Regions from separate parts of the Homo sapiens genome. Here regions 1 and 2 are each linked to region 3. Evidence: promoter capture Hi-C in 16 types of primary human blood cells and fetal thymus (Javierre and others, 2016). All regions are on one chromosome and are shown on one strand. Each heading gives the region's core, a stretch centred on a gene start or on the middle of the fragment in contact. The rest is flanking DNA. Distances are from core to core; before and after follow the strand shown. Region 1 holds the start of UICLM (up-regulated in colorectal cancer liver metastasis). Region 2 overlaps CROCC2 (ciliary rootlet coiled-coil, rootletin family member 2). Region 3 holds the start of ANO7 (anoctamin 7).

What was found. Contacts are between HindIII fragments. The CHiCAGO score rates a contact against its expected background, and 5 or more counts as called.
Region 1: the fragment with the promoter of UICLM here is called in contact with the fragment with the promoter of ANO7 in region 3 in 10 of 17 cell types (naive CD8 T cells, naive B cells, naive CD4 T cells and 7 more); the score reaches 10.6 in naive CD8 T cells.
Region 2: a contact is called between a fragment that was not itself captured here and the fragment with the promoter of ANO7 in region 3, in 5 of 17 cell types (endothelial precursors, naive CD8 T cells, naive CD4 T cells and 2 more). The highest score is 5.9, in endothelial precursors.

The regions. Positions count from the first base shown.
Region 1 is chr2:240,966,057-240,969,423 of GRCh38, reverse strand. UICLM (up-regulated in colorectal cancer liver metastasis) reads left to right here and starts at 1,973. Exons shown (of 9, transcript NR_033841.1): 1 at 1,973-2,097. CROCC2 (ciliary rootlet coiled-coil, rootletin family member 2) reads right to left here. Exons shown (of 32, transcript NM_001351305.2): 25 at 3,015-3,199; 26 at 1,959-2,079; 27 at 1,162-1,295. The HindIII fragment of the contact is 9,726 bases long and covers 1,877-3,367 here.
Region 2 is chr2:240,941,306-240,944,705 of GRCh38, reverse strand. The region is part of intron 14 of CROCC2 (ciliary rootlet coiled-coil, rootletin family member 2); the gene reads right to left. Among named protein-coding and RNA genes, the nearest start is that of UICLM, 24 kb to the left of the region's middle. The HindIII fragment of the contact is 872 bases long and covers 1,227-2,098 here.
Region 3 is chr2:241,186,919-241,190,759 of GRCh38, reverse strand. It overlaps ANO7 (anoctamin 7), which reads right to left and starts at 2,083. Exons shown (of 25, transcript NM_001370694.2): 1 at 1,994-2,083; 2 at 589-703. The coding sequence starts at 696. It overlaps LOC105373971 (a long non-coding RNA gene), which reads left to right and starts at 2,338. Exons shown (of 3, transcript XR_924064.3): 1 at 2,338-2,484. RefSeq lists enhancers at 1-10, 11-511, 1,445-2,128, 2,129-2,813. The HindIII fragment of the contact is 15,628 bases long and covers 1-3,841 here.

The DNA of each region.
Region 1 (3,367 bases), core at 724-3,223, 220 kb after region 3:
CAGCCTGGCCTCTGCTCTCTGCCCCCTCCCCTCTCCCCTGCAGAAGCCACCTCCTCAGAGGCTCAGGGCCTACTGGGAACTCAGAGCCTGCCTGCTAGTCTGAGTGCTGACAGCCCTCTGGTGGCCTCTGAGGGCCACCAGGCTCCGGGGCTGAGCCCCGCGTGGAACAGCACAGGCCTGGCCGGCTGCCCTTGGGGCCTTTCTGCCAACCTGCAAGGCCGTCCCTCCTGATGGCTCACCCAGGCCTCCCTCATTGGAGGGACACTTGGAGAGGAGTGGCTCCCCGGTCTCTGTGCCCTGTCTCCTCTGCACTGTGCTGGCCCCCTCTTTCCAGAATGGGTTGAGGGACGCCTGGGGGCAGTTGCCCTGGGGAGCCTCAGCCAGGCACGCTGTTCTCTGGCCCCTGGGGCCTGCAAGGGAGCTCTCTGGAGCGGAACAGTTGTCCCCTGGCCCAGTCCTGACAAGAGGATCTCAGGACACCCCGGGGGCTGCTTGGACCTGTGGGGCTGGGCTGGCTGGGCCTGGGGCTCCCCACCAGCACTGAGGACCAAGGCCTGGGCCAGGCCTCCATCCACCACTGCCTGGCCGTTCCATTTCCAGGCCCAGGCTCCTCACCTGAAAACCTCAGACCCAGCGGGCACCTCCCCAGCACAAAGCCTGGCATGTAGGGACACTGACTTCAGCCCTTCCTGAGAGGCCCCTTCTGTGTCTGAGCCACATGGAATGAAAAGTGGTCTTGGAGCAGGACAGTGTGACCCTATAAAGAGCCCCAAGGCTGGGCCAGGGCCGCCCCATGCCTGCCGCTGTGGCCTCAGCAAGAAGAAAGGGCCTAGACTTGGGGCTCTGCCCCCCACTCGCTGTGCCCCCAGGGCCAAGTCCTCAGTTTCCCCAACCTGTAAAACAAGGGCTAGAACCACCGTAAGGACAGCTCTGCTAAGGACGACCCCAGTCCCGATGACCCCAAAGCCGCCTGCCACAGCCCAGCCTGCACCTCTGCCCCAGGGCCCCACCGGGCTGGCTCCAGCCCCGAACACCCACAGAAGCCCTTGCAGACCCCTCTCTCCCACCTCCCGGCCCTGTGGCCTCCCTGCAGGGTGTGAGGGTGACCGAGAGGCCTTGTTCTTGTGCCCCACCTGGGACCCACCCTGCCGCCTGCCCCACCTGCAGCCGCCGCTTCTCCTGGCCTGCCGCACGCACGCTCGCCAGGTGCTCCAACTCCAGCCTGCGGAGCGCCTCCTTCTGCAGGGCACGTGCTGCCCGGGCGCTGCTCAGCGCGCCCTCCACCCGGCGCTGGCCTGTGGGGCAAGCAGGGTGGCTTGAGGGGCCCCCATGCCCCTCCCAGGTCACAGGCAGGCAATGCAGGGCTCTGTGGACTTGAGTGACTGGCTCCCACGTGGAGGTGGGGGTCCATCCTTGCAGCTCAAGGGTCCTGGGGCTGCCCCAGGGTCCCGGCTTCCCACCCATCCTTCCCTCCTGCCTCTTTCCTTTAATTGAGGGGCAATAAGCAGAGAAACTCGTGAGTGTGAGGCAGTGGGGGGCAGAAGGAAGGGGCCTCTCTGAGGGGGTGACGAGGGGCAGGGCCTGCCCGGGGAGAGCCGTGTGGCTGTCTGGGGGAGAGGGTGCCAGGCAGAGGGCACAGCCAGGGCAAAGGCCCCCAGTGGGAACTGCAGGAGGCCAGGGTGGGGCAGGGGGGCAGAGGATGCTGGGGGCCGGATCGGGAGGGCCCTGATGGGCCTGTGGACGTCACTCCTCTGTGCTGGGGAAGTCGCTGCTGAGAACTCCGATGCCAAGCGCTGACCCAGCCTCGCCAGGCCTGGTGGTTTGGGTGTTGCCCCCAGGCTCCCTTCCCACCGAGCTGCCCCAGGGACTGAAAGCTTATAGCCGGCAGCAGTGGGGACATGGTGGTGCCACTCTCACAGCCACTCCCAGGGTGGGCGGGGCAGGGCAAGGGAGGTCACCTTCTTCCGCCTCAGCCAGGGCTTTCTGCAGCTGCCCCACGCGGCTCTGGGCCCGGGCACACCTGCACTCTGCCTCGCTCAGCCGGCTGCTCAGGGTCGCCATCTGGATGCGGGAGTCATCCTGGGCAGAAGGACTGAGGTCAGCGGGGGCAGTCCAATGGGCGGGTGGAGGGCCAAGGTGTCTGCTAGAGGGTCGGGGCCAGCTGGGGCCGCTCACGGTCTGGCCTGCAGGTGTGCAGGGCAGGGCAGTGGGTGGTGTGGGCCGTGGGCTCGGGGAAGGTGCGGGGAAGGTGATCACACTGGGAAGCTGCGCTGACCTGCAGGCCTGGGGAGGTGGAGGCGCCCAGTGAGACTCGGCCTAAAGGGTCCAGGTTTCAAGCACAGGTGTGGTGTGGGAGAGCTGGCAGGTGGCGGCCCACAGCCTGTGGTCAGGGGGACCGGTAGGGGCTGCCCCTGGCGGGACTTGGGGCTGAGTGCAGACGGGACCCTGCCCCCTGGGGCTGGCAGCGGTGGGAGGGTGGGCCCGAAGGGAAGGAGTGTGCACAGAGGACCCTGGCCAGGGCTCAGGGCCTGCCTCTGTCTTTCCCACAGTCCTGCCCACTGGAGTCATCCAGCGAGGTGGGAGGGGGCCGCTCACGGGTGGTTCTGTGGGAGCCCTGAAGCCAGGAGCAGCCACTGGGGAGCTTGGCCCCACCGGAGGGGTCTTTGGGAGCATTGAGGGGAGCTTGCTGGCTCTGTCCTGCAGTTGCCCAGCCCCGGCAGCTCTTCAGGGGTGGCATGAGTTGCAGAATGCCCTACCCTGGGCCCTGGTGGGTGTCACAGCAGGGCCTGGCTCCAGGGGCTTTTCAGCCTGGTATAAGGAAGGGGGCGGCCTCCAGCCACCCAAGGCACTTGGGCTTGGGGGCCATGGTGGTGCTGGTGTTTATCACAACAAACAGGACGGCCTGGACACTGACCCTCAGACCCAGGGACGCGCGGATGGATGGACAGCAGGTGTTCTTCCCAGAGACCCCCGGGGGGTGCCGCCGTGGGCGGGAGGACCCCAGCCCCCATTACCCGCTCCCGCTGGGCTTCCCGGAGCTTCTGCACAAAGTCCCGCAGGATGTCCTGCACGGTGGCCACATCCATGAGCTCTGAGCTGCGGCCTCCGGGTGTGGGCGAGGGCCATCGGAGGGGCGAGTGGGGCCTGGCTGGGGGGCTGGTACCCTGTTGCCCAGGGAGAGCCTGGGAGCTGTCGGAGCCTGCGGGAGGTGACAGCGGAGGGGTCGTGGACAGGAACACAGTGACAGATACACGCCCTTCCCCTTTCCTCTCTGCTGCCCCAGCCATGGGAGGTTGGGGAGACGGCCACAGGTTCCTACAATTGCCTGTCCGAGTCCCTCACTGTGTGAGTTGTGAGGCCTGAAAGA
Region 2 (3,400 bases), core at 413-2,912, 250 kb after region 3:
TTCACGTGTTCAAGAAGATGGATAGCAAGACGTAAAGTTTAACAATAGAACTGGATACTAAATATAAAAAAGACAATTTAAAATATAATAACCAAAAGTAAAAAAAAAATTAATAGACAATGGCAGATTAGACAGAATAAAAGAAAGGACTAATAACCTGGAAGAGAGACAAAGAATGTGTTCAGACTGAATCATAAAGAGATAGAAGGATGGATAGAAAATACACAAAAGAATGTTATAGACATATAGGACAAGCTAAAAATGCCCATCATATGTGTAATTACAGCCTCAAAAGGAGATGAGAGGGCACATTTGAACAGATACAGGCCAAGAATGTTCCAAATCTAATAAAATACATCTAGCCACAGACTTAAAATGAGCTGTAACCCCCAAAAGGATAAATTAAAAGAAAATGTCACATATATACAACTTAGTAAAGTTTCTGAATACCAAAGATAAAGAAAAATGTTTTTTAAAAAACAAAGGGAAAAAGACACATAGGCGTGAAATGAACAAGACTGACATTTGCTTTCTATGCAACAATGAAGGCCAGAAGATGATGGAATGACTTCATTAAATTTCTGAAAGAAAATAATGGCTATTTTAGTATTCTATACCCAGCGAAAACATTCTTCAAAAGTAAAAACCAGGACTTTCTGCTTCTGATAATGGTGAGGTGGGTTGTTGAAAACCAACCCTCCCATCTAAAGCAACTAGAAAAGCAATACAACGTACAATCCAATAATCTGTTTAAAAGCATTAGAGAGATACTAACGCAGTCAGGTCCCAGGTGTTCAGGCTACAGAGAGAAATATATTAAAGTGAGTCTGAAATTCTATGAATACAACAGATTTCCCCTTTGAGGTATCTGCCAAGTCCTAAGTGACAGGGGGTGTAGAGCCTCAGTATCCAAGAATAAAGCTTTAGGCCGGGCTTGGTGGCTAATGCCTGTAATCCCAGCACTTAGGGAGGCCGAGGTGGGCAGATCACCTGAGCTCGGGAGTTCGAGACCAACCTGGCCAACATGGCGAAACCCCATCTCTACTAAAAATACAAAAATTAGCCGGGCATATGCCTGTAATCCCAGCTACTCAGGAGGCTGAGGCAGGAGAATTGCTTGAACCCAGGAGGCGGAGGTTGCAGTGAGCCGAGATCACCCCATTGCACTCCATCCTGGGCGACAGAGCAAGACTCTGCTTAAAAATTAAAAAAAAAAAAAAAAAGCTTTAGCTAAAAGACTGGGAACATGGCCTAAGATTTCAGCAGGCTTATGAGATTGAAGAGATATAACTTAGAGTTCAGATATACCAAAGCAGCCGGGGAACGAAAAGAAGAGCGGATATCAGAGAGCAAGGAAATGCCTTGAGGTAAGCCTGAGATTGTATATTGCGATTTTAAAAAATGGTACTGCTGGCTGAGCGCAAAATCCCAGCACTTTGGGAGGCTGAGGCAGGTGGATCACTTGAACCCAGGAGTTTGAGACCAGCCTGGGCAACATGGCAAAACCCCATTTCTACAAAAAACACAAAAATTAGCTGGGCGTGGTCATGTGTGCCTGTAGTCCCAGCTACTCGGGAGGCTGATGTGGGAGGATCACTTGAGCCCAGAAGGTCGAGGCTGCAGTGAACCATGGTCATGCCACTGCACTCCAGCCTGGGCAACAAAGACCCTGTCTCAGAAAATAAAATAAATGGTACTGCTTTGAAAAAGTATGTATTTTTTATAATTCAGAAGTAGTAAAGGACCAGGAGACTACGAATCTGAACAAAAAAATAGCAGCTGACAGTCTGAGAAGTCAGATAGTACTTTTGAAAGTCCTATCTGAAATAAAGATAATAAAAAAAAGACAATAAATAAAAAGAAAATAAAACCTGGAGTTTAGGGCTAACTAAAGAGTAGGAACCCTGGTAAACACCTGAGATTTCCCATTAGGAACATAGGAGAGTTATATTATACCCTGGGATAAGCCAGAAATAGACGACTCCTCACAAAAGACTGAAGTACAGTTACAAAGCAGCTAAATCCTGGACTGGATAAAGGCAATTTATCCCTATTCTGATTTCCCAAAGTCAAAAGCAAATTCCCTCTAGAAGAAGCTTATATCATTCAAAGCCTTAAATTATCTCTATGAATTATATCTACAAAAACACAAAGTCTGTCATTCAATCAAAAATTATTAAGCATAATAAAAAAACAAACAATATTAAGCATACTAGGAGACAAGGCCAAACTACTGAAAATAAATAAATAAAAGACAATAGAAATAGCTCATTAGGGGATCCAGATGTTAGAGTTATCAGACAAAGACCCAAAAAGTATTGTAATTAATATGTTTAAAAACATACTCAAGAAGGAAAAGAATGTTACCAAATAACTGAAATGTTTGTGAAAAGATGATTGAGTGTGTGTGTGTGAATGGTTAAAAATAATCATTTAAAAGTAAAAAGTATTAATAAAGTAATGTACGGTTTATAACAACACACACAGAAATAAAATATAGAACAACAAGAGCAAAAAGTATGGAAGAGATGTCTTAGTAAATTTGTGCTGCTATAACAAAGTACCTGAGACTGGGTAATTTATAAAGAACAGAAATTTATTAATTTATCTTCTCACAGTTCTAGAGACTGGGAAGTCCAAAATCAAGGTGCTGGCAGGTTCAGCTGTCTATCAAGGACTACTCTCTGCTTCCAAGGCTGTGCCTTGATGCTGCATTTTCCGGATGAGAAGAATGCTGCACCTTCACATGGTGGAAGGCATAAGGGAAAGTGAGACACAAATGATGCTGCAAGCCCCTTTCATAAAGGCTTTAATCTCGCTGATGAGGGTGGAACCCTTATGGCCTAAATCACCTCTTAAAGGTCCCATCTCTTAATACTATCACAATTAGTAAGTTTCAACACCTACATTTTGGAGGGGACACATTCGAAACATAGCAAGGGATGAATGGAATGTATTGCTGGAAGGGTCTTACATTGTTTGTGAAGTAATATAATATTTGGATATAGACTGTGCATATCATAATTTTAGGGTAATCACTAAAACTAACAAAAAGAAACACAGTTTCATTCTTCTACATGTGGCTTGACAATTATCCCAGCACCATTTCTTGAATAGAGTGTCCTTTCTTTACTTTATGTTTTTGATTGTTTTGTCGAACATCAGTTGACTGTAAGTATTTGGGTTTATTTCTGGGTTCTCTATTCTGTTTCATTGGTCTATGTGCCTATTTTTATACCAGTACCATGCTGTTTTGGTAACTGTTACCTTATAGTATAGTTTGAAGTTGGGTAATGTGATGCCTCCAGATTTGCTTTTTGCATGTTCTTGCTTTGGCTCTGTGGCTTCTTTTTTGGTTCCATATGAAATTTAGGATTTTTTTCTAGTTCTGTGAAGAATG
Region 3 (3,841 bases), core at 834-3,333:
TTGAGGTGAGAGGCCCTGTGCCCTCCCTGGAGGCTCATCTCAGCTGTGCTTGGGGCGGCAGGAAGGGGTCCCGTGTCCACCCGCAGGCTGCTGGGGCAGACGTGTGGCCCAGGAGAACCAGGAAGAGGGCCCTCCACGGCCAGGGCCTCCCGCATGGCCTTGAAGGCCCGGGACCCAGCCTCTCCCCACAGGCTCACAGCGCATCCATGGCCTCCTAGTGACAAGGTGGAGCCCTACAGATGGCCCTGGGTGCTGCTGTGGCCCTGCACTGACTGGGACTGACACCACAGGGAGGGCCCCGCCCTGGTCTTGCCTTTGCCTGGCCAGGCCCCCCTTACCCTCCTGGAGCTCCTGTCTGAACATCAGTGGGTTCTGCTCGGTTCTCCACAGCCAGGCCAGGCCAGGAGAGCGGTGATCTGACTGTGTGTGTTGAGGACTGGGTGGCGAGGGCTTGGGGGTTGCCGGGGGATGCAGGAGAAACACGGTGATGCCCATCCACCCCCAGAGGCTCTGGGCCCAGGGTGGGGGCATAGACCCAGGCAGGGGAGGACCTCTCAAGTCGCACCACAGTCTCCTGGGTGCTGTTACCTCCGAGGCGTGGGCTGTGCTCCCGTAAGAGCCCCTCTTCTCTGCCTCAGGGGGGCTCACATCGATCAGGACGGTGCTGTCCTCTTCCTGGGCCCGTCGCCGCAGCATCCTGCTCCTGCACCCAGCAAGGCCGGGTGGGGATGGGGGTCAGAGAGGGGATGGGTGAGACCCGTTCCTGGGGCCACCACACTGCCTGCAGTGAGCTCACTTTACAGACTCGACTCGGAGTAGAATGGGGCTGGGCTGGCTCGGCAGACTCTCCTGGCCATGAGCACATGGAGAACCCCCTAGCCAGCCACGAGCTCCAGGAAGAAACCAGTGCCGGGGCGGGAGCGTCTGGCAGGCCTGGCACAGCAGGCGTCTGTCTGTCCATCCAGTGAGTGCCCGTGTCCCCCAGCCCTGAATGCCGTCCACTCTGCCTGGGTACTCAGTGGAGCCTGAGAAGGCCCAGAAAGGTGGGCCTGGAGTACAGACACCTCTCCCTCTCTTATCCGTAGGGTGGAGCCATGTGAGCCAGGGACAGGAAACCCCTCAAGTCGCCTGCCTTCGCTCATGGCCTGAGGACCCAGTGCCAGGACCCATAGGCCCTGAGCTCCCCAGCAAGGCGGGCCTGATGGAGCCCGGCCTCACAACTCTTGGGGGTCCCAGCTTCCTCCCGCACCTTCGCCCCGGGGGTCTCTCTCTGTGGGAGGACAGGTGCCGTGGCTCCTAGTCTTGGGCTGGCAAAACGGGGCCAGGAGCACGACATCTGTGGCCCTGGAAGGAGAGGGTTCGAGCTGGGGCTGGCATTTGGAGCTGCGACGATGACCGGAGGGTGTGACCATGGAGGCGCCGCAGGAGGTCGGAGGGGCAGCCTTCTAGTTCTACCCTTCACTTCACATTAGCGGAGGCCCAGAGGGACAGAGACTGAGCCTGGGCCGCCTGCACCTGCCTAACCCTGAAGCCCGAGCCAGGTCTCAGTGTTAGGACTCGGCCCCGGCCCCAGGCTGGGAGCCTCACTACGGACTGTGGGGTGTTCCTGGAGGAAAGTCCCCGAGGAGTTTCGGCCACCCAGCAGCCCCTCATGCCCCCATCCTTCTGTGGTGGGCAGGCGGGCCCCTCCTCAGAGCTCTCTGCAGAAAGAATGGGGATGCCCCCCACCCCAACGAAGGGACCTGCTCCATGGGGGAGCCCCTGGGCAGGCAGGAAGCCAACCCCAGCTGGGTGTACCCCGTCCAGAGCCGCACTGAGTGTGTGTCCCTCCTCGTGCCCCAAGGGGCTTTGGGGACCAGGGCGGGCCCTGGCACTGCCTCCCCACAGGCCAGGGTGTGTGAAAGTCCCGGTGGGCTGGGGTGCCGCCCTGCCTCCCTAGAGTCCAACGCTCCACCTTCTCCCTGTGGCCCACACGTCTAGGCTGGGTCCCCACCTGGCACAGTGGCTTCCGGAAGAGGTCTCGGAGGTCATGGCCCACCTCTCAGCGTGAGCCTGGTCTCGGCAGTAGAGTCCCGTCCTCACTGCGGGACAGAGGGTGGGGAGGGGTGGCCCTTGGAGCCCCGCCCAGGCAGTGGCAGCCATTCGCATGCCCTCACCTTGCCTGCAAGTGGGCCAGGAAGCAGGCAGGGGAGGTGCCCAGCACAGCTGGCCAGGGCAAGGCTTCCCGGCTCCTGGAGCAGGATCTATCTTTGTTTAAATAGGGGGTGTGGGGCTCAGAGCTGCAGACAGAGGCAGCCCACTTGGCTGGGCTTTCACACACCCGCATGCAAATGCTGCCGTCCTCCTGGGAACCTTATTTGCTTAGAGATTTCAGGGCTGGCATCAGCTGTCATAGTTGCTGCCTTGGAGGGTCTCGAGGAGGTGGGATTCCACAGGAACAGCCACAAGTGCCACCTCTGCTGGAAGCCTTGCCAGGCAGACCTCGTAAGCTCTGTTTATGTGGGGGGAAACTGAGGCTCCTTGAGGTTACGTAGCATGTGCTGAGTGGTGGGCCAGGGTTTCACCCGGGGGCTGGGGAGATTGGGAGACCCAGATCACACTGCTGGCTCTGCTAATGCCTGAGGGGTGACCTCAGGCACATCCCATGCTCAGGGCCCCATCTGCAAAAGGACAGGAGGGGTCCTAGCCTTCCTCCCATCCTTTCCGCCCTCCTCCTCGTCCTCATTCTCCTCCTAGCCCTCCTCTTTCTCCTCCTAGCCCTCCTCCCCCTCCTCCTTTCTCCCCCTCCTCCTATCCTTTCTCCCCACCTTCCCTCTCCTCCTTCTCCTCCTATTGTTTCTCCCCCCTACTCCTCCCTCTCCTTCTCCTCCTATCCGTTCTCCCCTCTCCCTCTCCTCCTATCATTTCTCCCCCCAACTCCTCCTCCTCCTCCTCTTTCTCCCCACTCCCCCTCCTCCTATCGTTTCTCCCCCTCCCCCCCACTTCTCCCTCTCCTCTTCCTTCTCCTCCTTTCTCCCCACTCCCCTCCTCCTGTTTCTCCCCCTCCCCCCACTTCTCCCTCTCCTCCTCCTTCTCCTCCTATCCTTTCTCCCCGCCCCTCCTCTTCCCCTCTCCCTCCCCCTCCCCCTTTCCTCCTTGGTGCCTGGCAGTGTCTGAGAACCTACCACCCGTGCTCCTCGCCCTCCATGCACAACTGCACTGGGGAGCCCCAAGCTCAGCTTGCTGTTCCAGGTGCCCCCTTCTGCCTGTTGAAATCCCTCCAGGCGGACCCTCATCCTGGCTGCAGCTTTCCCTTATACCTATGCCCCTCTGTGCTTGGCACCTCCCAAGGGGCCCTGTTCTTGGACCTGTGTTGTGCCTCGGAACAGCGGGAAGGCCCTGCAGGCCGGGTTCCCTGTCAGCACCAGCAGAGCCTGGGCGGCAGGACCTTGGGGCCCTGGGCCTCAGGGCATCTGCATGAGAGGTCTCTGCTTGGCCAAGCTCAGCCTGCAGGCGCCTGAGGTGGATCCCTGGACGAGGGCTGGACTGGGGAAGTGCTCCAGAAACCAGGAAAGGAGTCGGGAGGCAGGAGGGGAGGGAGGATGAGCGGGGCACCATCTCCCCAAGACCTGTGGAGGGTGGCCTCAGCCTGCCATGGGCACTCTGCAGGGGAGGCAAGACGAAGCGTTTCCTCACCTGGATGCAACTGTAGGCTCTTACTCTGCTCAGTCATTGGCCAAGGACCCTCCCAGGAAGACATGCCACCTCCCAGGAGCTCCTGGCTCTCTGCTCTTGGTGACAAAGTGGCTCTGGTGGCCTCAGGGCTGTCTACTCAAGAGCTTCAGGGCCGGCTGCTGGAGGT